2 separate regions of the Homo sapiens genome follow, and region 2 is linked to region 1. Evidence: promoter capture Hi-C in human tissues and cell types (Jung and others, 2019). All regions are on one chromosome and are shown on one strand. Each heading gives the region's core, a stretch centred on a gene start or on the middle of the fragment in contact. The rest is flanking DNA. Distances are from core to core; before and after follow the strand shown.

Region 1 (5,544 bases), core at 2,976-5,475:
CAGCTAATTTTTTGTATTTGTAGTAGAGACGGGACACACACACACACACACACACACACACACACACACACACAAAGTATTCCTTATCTGAAGTGCTTGGGATCAGAGGTGCTTCAGATTTTTTCAGATTTTGGAATATTTGTCTATTCATAATGAGATATCTTAGGGATGGCACCCAAGTCCAAAGACCAAATTCATTTATACTTTATAAGCACAGCCTGAAGGTAATTGTATACAATATTTTAAATAATTTTGTGCATGAAACAAAGTTTGTGTAAAGTACTTATATGTGAAACTTTCCACTTATAGTGGGGCATCATGTCAGTATGCAGAAAGTTTCAGATTTTGGAGCTAGCCGGGCGTGGTGGCTCACGCCTGTAATCCCAGCACTTTGGGAGGCCGAGGCAAGCAAATCACTTGAGGTCGGGAGTTCAAGACTAGCCTGACCAACATGGTGAAACCCTGTCTCTACCAAAAGTGCAAAAATTAGCCAGGCATAGTGGCACATGCCTGTAATTCCAGCTACTCAGGAGGTTGAGTGAGGCAGGAGAATAGCTTGAACCTGGGGGGTGGACGTTACAGTGAGCTGACATCATGCCACTGCACTCCAGCCTGGGCGACTAAGCAAGACTCTGCCTCAAAAAAAAAAAAAGATTTTGGAGCATTTCGGATTTTGAATTAGGGATGTTCAACCTGTGTATGCGTATGTGTGTGCGTGTGTGTATACATACATACACACACATATATATATATATATAAATTTTTTTTTTGAGATGGAGTCTCACTCTGTTGCCCAGGCTGGAGAGCAATGCAACCTATGCCTCCCGGGTTCAAGCAATTCTCCTGCCTCAGCCTCCCGAGTAGCTGGGATTACCATTTACTCCTGTATTACTGCCCCAGCCTCTTCCCTGGTCTGCTGGCCTCCAGTCCTGGCTCCTCCAGTCTGTCCTCCCTAGAAGAGTCCAGGAGGCCTTTCTAAAGCACAAAACTGACCCTGTCCCTTCATTGCTCAGAGCACCTCTATGGCTCCTAAGTGCCCTTGAGAGAAAGCCCAGGCTCCTCACCACCTCCAGCTAATTTCTGTATTTTTAGTAGAGACGAGGTTTCATCATGTTAGCCAGGCTGGTCTCAAACTCTTGACCTGAGGTGATCCACCTGCCTTGGCCCCCAAAATGCTGGGATTACAGGCGTGAGCCACCACACCAGGCCCATGTATGTGTATCTTAAGTGTGTTAAATTCCACAAAGGGGAAGGAAAGGGAGCTATGATTATGGCATTTTTAGAGGACACCTGACTGAGCTTGGGAAACAAGACTTCTCTGAGGACTGAGATCTGACAGATAAGCAGTAGTTAACCAGGTATGGGAAGAGCTCATACAAAGGTCCTGTGGCTGGGGAGCGCTTGGGTCAGTGGAGGAATAGCAAGGAGGCCAAAATGACTTGTGCAAAGGAACAAGGCAGAGTGTGGGGTGGTGTGAGTCTGGAGGAAGGGCAAAGGCCAGGCCATGCAGGACCCTAAAGGCCACAGTGAGGAGCCTGGGCTTTCTCTCAAGGGCACTTAGGAGGCATAGAGGTGCTCTGAGCAACGAAGGGACAGGGTCAGTTTTGTGCTTTAGAAAGGCCTCTTGGACTCTTCTAGGAAGGACAGACTGGAGGAGCCAGGACTGGAGGCCAGCAGACCAGGGAGGAGGCTGGGGCAGTAATACAGGAATAACTGGGAAAGGTCTATATAAATGTCATCTGACAGGAACACTGAACCTAGAAAACAGGTGCCATTTCAAGCTGGGATCCCAAGGATACACAGGAGTTAAATAGGTGAGGGGGGGTAATATAGGCCAAAGCCCTGTGGTGGCAGAAATAGAAGGCCAGTGGAGCTGTCCGAGTATGAAGCTGAGTGGTCAGACCACAAGGGTCTTTTAGGCCAGGGATAGTTTGGTCTTCCCCGCAAAAACAACTGAAGCATCAGACAGGAGAGGGAAGTGGTCAGGTTTCACTTAATATTCACTCCTTTTTTTTTGAGACAGTCTTTTTTTTTTTTTTTTTGAGACAGAGTCTCGCTGTCGCCCAGGCTGGAGTGCAATGGTGCTATCTCAGCTCACTGCAGGCTCCGCTCTGCCCCCCTCCCCGGTTCACACCATTCTCCTGCCTCAGCCTCCCGAGTAGCTGGGACTACAGGCACCCGCCACCTCACCTGGCTAATTTTTTGTATTTTAATAGAGATGGGGTTTCACCGTGTTAGCCAGGACGGTCTCGATCTCTTGACCTTGTGATCTGTCCACCTCGGCCTCCCAAAGTGCTGGGATTACAGGCGTTGAGTCTTGCTCTGTCACCCAGGCTGGAGTTCAGTGGCACAATCTCCATGCACTACAGCCTCCTCCTCCCGGGCTCAAGCAATTCTCGTGCGTCAGCCTCCCAAGTAGCTGGGACTACATGCACACACCACTAAGCCTGGCTAATTTTTGTATCTTTAGTAGAGATGGGGTTTCACCCTTTTGGCCAGGCTGGTCTCGAACTCGTGACCTCAGGTGATCCACTTGGGATTACAGGCGTGAGCCACTGTGCCAGGCCAACTTAATACTCACTCCTATTGTGTGCCAAGCCAAATCTCAAGAGTGGCTGAGCTCTTCTGGGAATGGGGAACACAGCAATAAGCGAAACAGACATTCTGGAGGTGGCCAGTCTAACGTCAGGACTGCTCTGAGGGTTACAGAGACTTCCCTTTTTCTTGCTAACACCGGATCGGCACTGGGAGGCCACACCAAACGACACAGTATGCTACAACAAACAGAAGCCCTTGGGATCCCACCAATGATTATCCTCAAGAAAAGATTAATGAATATACTCCTGAGGAAATGAGCCTCTTGTCTTGACATACTTCCAAGCCCAGATTTTACCAGGATGACCAGCTGTGCCCCCCAACCCAGGGTCCCTCACCCCAGACAAAAGGCCAGTTACTCACGATCTTTTCATAATACTCCCGTCTCCGCTCCGCCCTCTTCTTGTAGTCGACCATCATGCCTCGAAGCTTCCGCTCATGCTTCCGAGCCTCGTGCCACATTGTGGTGAGGCCAAGCCTGGGGCCTCAACCTGAGGGATGAAGGGACCAGGAAAGTCAGATGGTCTGTGAAACCCGTATGGGCAGAATCAAAGTCATCTAACAAGTTGGTGGCAGAGTCGATCCCAAACAACACATCTCTTAGCTTCAGGGAGCAGAAGTGAAGCTGCAGAACAGTATGCCAGATGTTCAAGTCCATCCCTAACAACTTCGATCTAGAAGCTTGGGCATTCTGAAAAACCCTCAGGTGATTCTGAGGTGAGCATCACTGGGAAAGGGGTGTCCTAGATTCCACGCGCTGGAGTCGGGAATGAAAGGTTTTGAAACATCAGCAGTGTTTGAAGTAGGGTCAGAAGGCAAACCCTGAGCACTTAAGGCTGGAGCTCAAGAGAAAGAGAAGAACTGAAAAGGCTCCCACTAGGGGCCATGCGTGGGGTTGGGTATGAGTCTGGGTGGTAGAGGGATAAGGAGAATAAGGATGAAGGCAGGTGGAGGAAATCGGAGAAAGCTTTTAAGGGAACAGTGCAGTTGTATGAAGGTGGAGGTCGAGGACAGGTGAAGGGCGTGGCGGAAGATGAAGATGCTAGAGGGAGTGGGAACACGGGGAGGGAGTGTTGCAAGGAGACCAGAGTGAAGCTGAGGTCTAAAGATGGGATCTAGATGGCGGGGTGGGGAGAGCATCCAAAGAAAAAGAGCGTAGAGCCTGAGAGAGGCGGAGCTGGCTGACAGGAGGGCGTGGGCTGAGCTTGGGGGCAGGGCTTGCGGGAAAGGGCGGAGACCGAAGGTTTGGACGGGGCTTGTGGATCGCGTCGCGGCCTGAGGATTTGGGCTGGGTTTTTTTTTTGTTGTTTTTTTTTTTGACAAGGGGGCGGGGCCTGTGATAAGCTGCTGGGCCGAAGGCCGAGTTCGACGCGGCAACTTCTGGCCCACAGCCGGGGCACGGGCTCGGCCTGAGGCCCGTCAGGCCTAATGGGGTGAGGGACGAGCGATCCTCGGGGCCGGGACGCAGCAGAAGCCCACAGCAGCATGGGGAGAGCCTGAGGAAAGGGAGAAGCTGGGCTGAGGCCTGCCCGAAAACCGGGAGGTCGAGCCGCAGCCTGCACTCACCGGCTGGTCGCCGCCTCCCACCGCTGCGCTCGCGCGCGGCCCGCACCGGAAGCGGAAATGAAAGGCCGCGCTAGGGGGAGGGGGCGGAGCATGGTGGAGGGCCGCGCAGCGCACTTCCGCCGACGAGAGAGGCGGGTCCTAGAGTCGAGAGGGGCGGGATCCCGAGGAAGAAGTGGGAGAGCGGAGAAGGGAAGAGCTTGGATGCTTTATCTTTTTATCTTTTTTATTTTATTTATTTATTTAATTTTATTTTTTTGAGACGGAGTCTCTCTTTGTCTCCCAGGCTAGAAGGCAGTGGCGCGATCTAGGCTCACTGCAACCTTTGCCTCCTGGGTTTCAGCTATTCTCCCACCTCAGCCTCCCGAGTAGCTGGGACTACAAGCGCGCGCCACCAAGCCCGGCTAATTTTTGTATTTTTAGTAGAGATGGGGTTTCACCATTTTGGTTAGGCTGGTCTCAAACTCCTGACCTCAGGTGATCCACCTGCCTCGGCCTCCCAAAGTGCTGGGATTACAGCCATGAGCCACCATGCCCGGTCTCATTTTTTATTTTCATTTTCATTTTTTATTTTTTTGAGACACAGCCTCGCGCTGTCGCCCAAGCTGGAGTGCAGTGGTGCGGTCTTGGCTCACTGCAACGTCCACCTCCTGGGCTCAAGCGATCCTCCCACCTCAGCCTCTAGAGTAGCTGGGATTACAGGCGCGCAGCACCACGCCCGGCTAATTTTTGTATTTTTTGTAGAGACTAGGTTTCGTCATGTTGCCCAGGCTGGTCTCAAACTCGTGAGCTCAAGCGATCCTCCTGCTTTGGCCTCCCAAAGTGCTGGGATGACAGGCCTGAGCCCCCAGCCTGGAGGCTTTCTTTGCTACTAAGGGACTAGGGCGTTTCCCAAGCCCAGAACAGACGAAACCCCGGAGGCTCAAAAACTCATCTTTATTGGGAAGACTCTGAACAACCAACCTACCCCCCACCTTCAAGTCTGGGGAGGGAGGGCCAGGAATCTGCCCCCTCCTCCCATATGTACAATCTTTTCCGAATCCTACTGGAGAAGGTGCCCCCACATGTGGGGACAGAGGCAGCTGTAACAAGCTAGTGCACGGGAGCCATGTCCCTTTTCCTCTCCGGACTCAGTTTCCTCATCTGTAAAATGGGCTCAAGGGGAAACCCGTGCAACGGAGCTTCTCGCCAAGGCTGAATATGTCCACTTCAGAAGCATGAGGAAGGGCCAAGGGGATGGGGGTGCTAGACATCCTGGTTGGGATTGCACGGCTCCTCCACCTCCCTCCCCACCCAGTGCCCCTCCTCTGGCATCGCGGGGCTACGTGGCTTCAGGCCCCGGGGATAGGAGGCCGCCCCCAAAGGCCGCCTCGCGGTAATGATTGG
Region 2 (4,828 bases), core at 1,443-3,942, 530 kb before region 1:
AGTTGGTTCCCTCTCAGCGTAGCCTCTGGGCCTCTCTTCTCCACGTGGTCTTTCCTGCAGGGTAGCTGAATATCTCACATGGCTGCTCAGGACTCCCCAACAGCCAGATTTTCATGAGGGAAGAAGCAGAAGCTGCAGGTTATTTAAGGGCAAGGCCTGGAATCTTCCAGCGTCATTTCCACCACACTATTGGTCAAAGCAGCTCCAGGCACAGACCACAGTGGGTGTGGGAAAGAACTGCACAGGGTGTGATACGAAGGGGTCCCTGATGGCACAGTCTGCCACAGAGTAGGCACTCTTGGCTTCGGATCTTGGCACTGCTGCTTATTAGCCATGTGACTTTGAGCAGGCAGCTTGACCTCTATGAGCCTCCATTTCCATATTTATCAAATGGGATACTAATAGAACTTATCTCCCAGGATTCTTGTGAGGATGCAGCAGGATAGTGGATAGGCGAGCCCTGGCCCGGGACATGCCCATCTGGTTGCTACTACAGGCTACAGGGGGTATACATGGAATCCGTTTTTTTTTTCTTTTTTTTTTTTTTTTTTGAGACAGAGTCTTGCTCTGTCGCCCAGGCTGGAGTGCAGTGGCACGATTTTGGCTCATTGCAAGCTCCGCCTCCCGGGTTCACGCCATTCTCCTGCCTCTCAGCCTCCCGAGTAGCTGGGACTACAGGCGCCCGCCACCACGCCCAGCTAATATTTTTTGTATTTTTAGTAGAGACGGGGTTTCACCATGTTAGCCAGGATGGTCTCGATCTCCTGACCTCGTGATCCGCCCGCCTCAGCCTCCCAAAGTGCTGGGATTACAGGCGTGAGCCACTGCGCCCAGCCCCCTTTGTTTTTTTTGAGATGGAGTCTAACTTTGTTGCCCAGGCTTTTGCCTTCCTGAGTAGCTGGGATTACAGGCGCCTGCCACCACGCCCAGCTAATTTTTGTATTTTTAGTAGAGACGGGGTTTCACCATGTTGGTCAGGCTGGTCTCCAACTCCTGACCTCAAGTGATCCGCCCGCTGTGGCCTCCCAAAGTGTTGGGATTACAGGCGTGAGCCACCGCACCCAGCCGGAATCCCTTCTTGTCATTACTGCCCAAGTGCCAAAACCTCTGCTTCTAGATAAAGACTTCGTGCACTCAGATCCTTGCCCTGCTGTTTACGTGGTGTGTGTCCTGCATGAGTCCCTCTGCCTTTCTGTACCGAATAGCACTTAACCTCATAGTTCTGATGTTCCCTCAGCACCATTCAGTAAACAGTGTTTACTGTTTACTGTTTGCAGCGCGGCCTCGAACCAGGCTGCCTGCTTATCTGTCCCCGCTCTGCCACTTTCTGTGTGACCCCAGGGAGAGTTATTTAACCTCTCTGGGCCTCAGTTTTATGCTTGTAATTGGGTTGTTATGTGGATATTAAGATCCATAAAACATAGAACTGTACCTGGCCCTCAAGTACTCTGTACATGTTTATTTACTTATTTATTCATTTTATTTGTTTATTTTTTGAGACAGAGTTTCGCTCTTGTTGCCCAGGCCGGAGTGCAGTGGCGTGATCTCAGCTCACCGCAACCTCCACCTCCTGGGTTCAAGTGATTCTCCTGTCTCAGCCTCCCGAGTAGCTGAGATTACAGGCATGTGCCACCATGCCCAGCTAATTTTTTGTATTTTTAGTGAGACGTGTGAATATAAGATGAGATTTGGGTGGGGACACAGCCACACCGTATCACTTGGCCTGGGGGATGGGGACTATGCTGTGGGGGAATTGGGCAGGCAACAGCCTTGTGTAGAACCAGGTCTCTGGCAAGGTACCTGGTGAACTAGAAAAAAACCTCCGTCTGAAGGCACACAAGCTTTGCCCTAGGTAGAGACTGATACATTCTCCTCTGAGAATTTGTAGCCACTGACTGTCCCTCATGTGGGCTTGGGGCCTCTTTGAAAGGTCCTGGAAGTTGCAGGCTGAGAATGAACCCCTAGGGGTACCTAATTGTATCTAAGCACCTGGCAAGGGCAAACATAAACTCTTCCTGCCTGTGCTCTCTCTGCCCAGGCCTTGGAGAAATCCTTCAGATAGAGTTCCAGCACATACAAGCTCACAGTAAAAAAAAAATATATATAGATAGATATATATCGAGATATATATCTATATATATAGTATGATATATATATCTATATATAGTATGATATATATAGATATATATCGAGATATATATCTATATATATAGTATGATATATAGGTATATATTGAGATATATCATATATATAGTATGATATATATAGATATATATCTCATATAGATATATATGATATATATCGATATATATATTTATATACATATATCATGATATATATGATATATATCAATATATATATTTATATACATATATCATGATATATATCCATATATGATATATATATCATATGATATATATATCTCATATCTCATATATGATATATATCTCATATATCTCGATATATATGATTATTATATGATATATGATATATATCATATATTGATATACATATATCATGATATATATCGATATATATCGATAATCTCATATGTTGATATATATGAGATATATATCGATATATATCTCATATATGTCGATATATATGAGATATATATCGATATATATCTCATATATGTCGATATATATGAGATATATATCGATATATATACTATATATATTTTTATTTTTTATTTATATGAGATATATAATCATATATATCGATATATATGAGAGATATATATATATCTCATATATATATCAGACCAACCTGACCAACATGGAGAAACCCCGTCTCTACTAAAAATACAAAATATATATATATATCAATATATATTGATATATATATATACACCACATGAAAAAAGCAGCCACCATGAGCGAGAGCCAGCAGAAAAACATGGCAGGTCACAGCCTGCAAACGTGGAATTATCAGATGTGGATATAAAATACCTAAGCTTATCTGTTAAGAGGATAAAAGAGAAGGATATTAAAACACAAGTAAAATGAAAAATTGCCAGGAAGCTGGAAAAAGAATTAAACAAAACTTCTAGAAAGGACAGCTACAACAGTTGGTGTTCAGCTCTCAATAGAAGGGCTAACTAACCACCAGGTTAAACACAACTGCCAAGAGGATTGGGGAGCTGAAAGGTGCACAATATGGAGGAAAACTAGTGAGCTTTCTGGGGCACTTCCAGTAGATGCCCAGGAGTGCTACCTGCAGGTCCTGATTTGGTGGACGTAGGGAAGGGGTGGACGTGTTTATTTTTAGCAGTCTCTAGAGTACATTCTCACACGCACCAGTGTTTGAAAATCACTTTGCTGGAGTTTATTTATAATCACCAGAGCGTCACATCAGTTATATTATATGGCAGCCAGGCTGCTGCTGGTGACCTCCAAACATTTATTATTATGTTCTCCTATCAAGGAAACACTTCTGAGGTTCCTTCCCTAGCATATATGTATGCACGTGTGTACACATATGTAAAATTATTTAGCAGTCAGCCAGGCACGGTGGCTCATGCCTGTAATCCCAGCACTTTGCGAGTCCAAGGCGGGTGGATCCCCTGAGGCGGGGAGTTCAAGACCAACCTGAACAACATGGAGAAACCCCGTCTCTACTAAAAAAATACAAAAAATTAGCTGGGCATGGTGGCGCATGCCTGTAATCTCAGCTACTTGGGAGACTGAGGCAAGAGTATCGCTTGAACCCGGGAGGTGGAGGTTGCGGTGTGCCAAGATCGCACCATTGCACTCCAGCCTGGGCGACAGAGCAAGACCCTGTCTCAAAAAAATAAAATAAAATAAGTAAATAAATAAATAAATGAAAGTATTTAGCAGTCATGTATAGCGCTAACATATAATAGTATGGTTATATTATATGCATTTAAAAACATACACAAAAATTAGAGGGATGAAACGAACATAAAAATTTTTAAAATAAACTTATTTATTCATGCCCCCCCCCCCCAAATAGTTTTGCTGTCACCGAAAACATTTTCCTATGCAGACATTATTAAGTAAATTTGGAAACTCTTGGTGAAACCCTCTGTGAGAGTCTGGCTTTGAATTTTTTTTTTTTTTTTTGAGACAGAGTCTCACTCTGTCGCCCAGGCTGGAGAGTAGTGGCACAATCTCGGCTCGCTACAACCTCCACCTCCCAGGTTCAAGTGATTATCCTGCCTCAGCCTCCCGAGCAGCTGGGATTACAGGCTTCTGCCACCACACCCGGCTAATTTTGTTTTGTTTTTGTTTTTTTCCCCAAGATGGAGTCTCACTCTGTCGCCCAGGCTGTAGTGCAGTGGTTCAATCTCAGCTCGCTGCAGCCTCCACCTCCCAGGTTCAAGCAATTCTCCTGCCTCAGCCTCCCAAGTAGCTGGGATTACAGGGGTGTGCCATTATGCCCAGCTAATTTTTTTTTGTATTATTATTGGAGATAGGGTTTCACCATATTGGCCAGGCTGGTCTCGAACTCCTGACCTCAGGTGATCTGCCCACCTCAGTCTCCCAAAGTGCTGGGATTACAGGCATGAGCCACCGCTCCCAGCCAGCTTTGACATTCTTTGTATGTGGCTGTCACAGCTGGCAAAGACCTAACTAAGGCACATAGTCTCAGATGGAAGAAGTGTGTCATTGGCTGCGTTTAATCTCGCTGCTCCTTTTTTAGTCCCACCCTTCATTATGCAGAGGCATTTGCTGGAATTTGCTCATGTACTCATGGCTAAATCTTCTGGCCGATTTCTGAACAGGGATCTTTTTCAGAAGCCCCTGTGTAGAGGGCTGGCTGATTTGCAACCTGAGTGCATCCCAGGGAATCTACTTGCGCTGGC

Evidence for each region. Contacts are between HindIII fragments. The study calls those that stand out against the background at their distance.
Region 2: a fragment that was not itself captured here is called in contact with the fragment with the promoter of CLASRP in region 1 in 1 of the 25 tissues and cell types used here (spleen).

What each region holds. Positions count from the first base shown.
Region 1 is chr19:45,037,726-45,043,269 of GRCh38, reverse strand. It overlaps CLASRP (CLK4 associating serine/arginine rich protein), which reads right to left and starts at 4,225. Exons shown (of 21, transcript NM_007056.3): 1 at 4,162-4,225; 2 at 2,959-3,086. The coding sequence starts at 3,057. It overlaps RELB (RELB proto-oncogene, NF-kB subunit), which reads right to left. Exons shown (of 12, transcript NM_006509.4): 12 at 5,078-5,544. The coding sequence ends at 5,480. RefSeq lists an enhancer at 3,682-4,551. The HindIII fragment of the contact is 17,106 bases long and covers 884-5,544 here.
Region 2 is chr19:45,570,120-45,574,947 of GRCh38, reverse strand. The region is part of intron 1 of OPA3 (outer mitochondrial membrane lipid metabolism regulator OPA3); the gene reads left to right. Among named protein-coding and RNA genes, the nearest start is that of OPA3, 12 kb to the left of the region's middle. The HindIII fragment of the contact is 4,011 bases long and covers 687-4,697 here.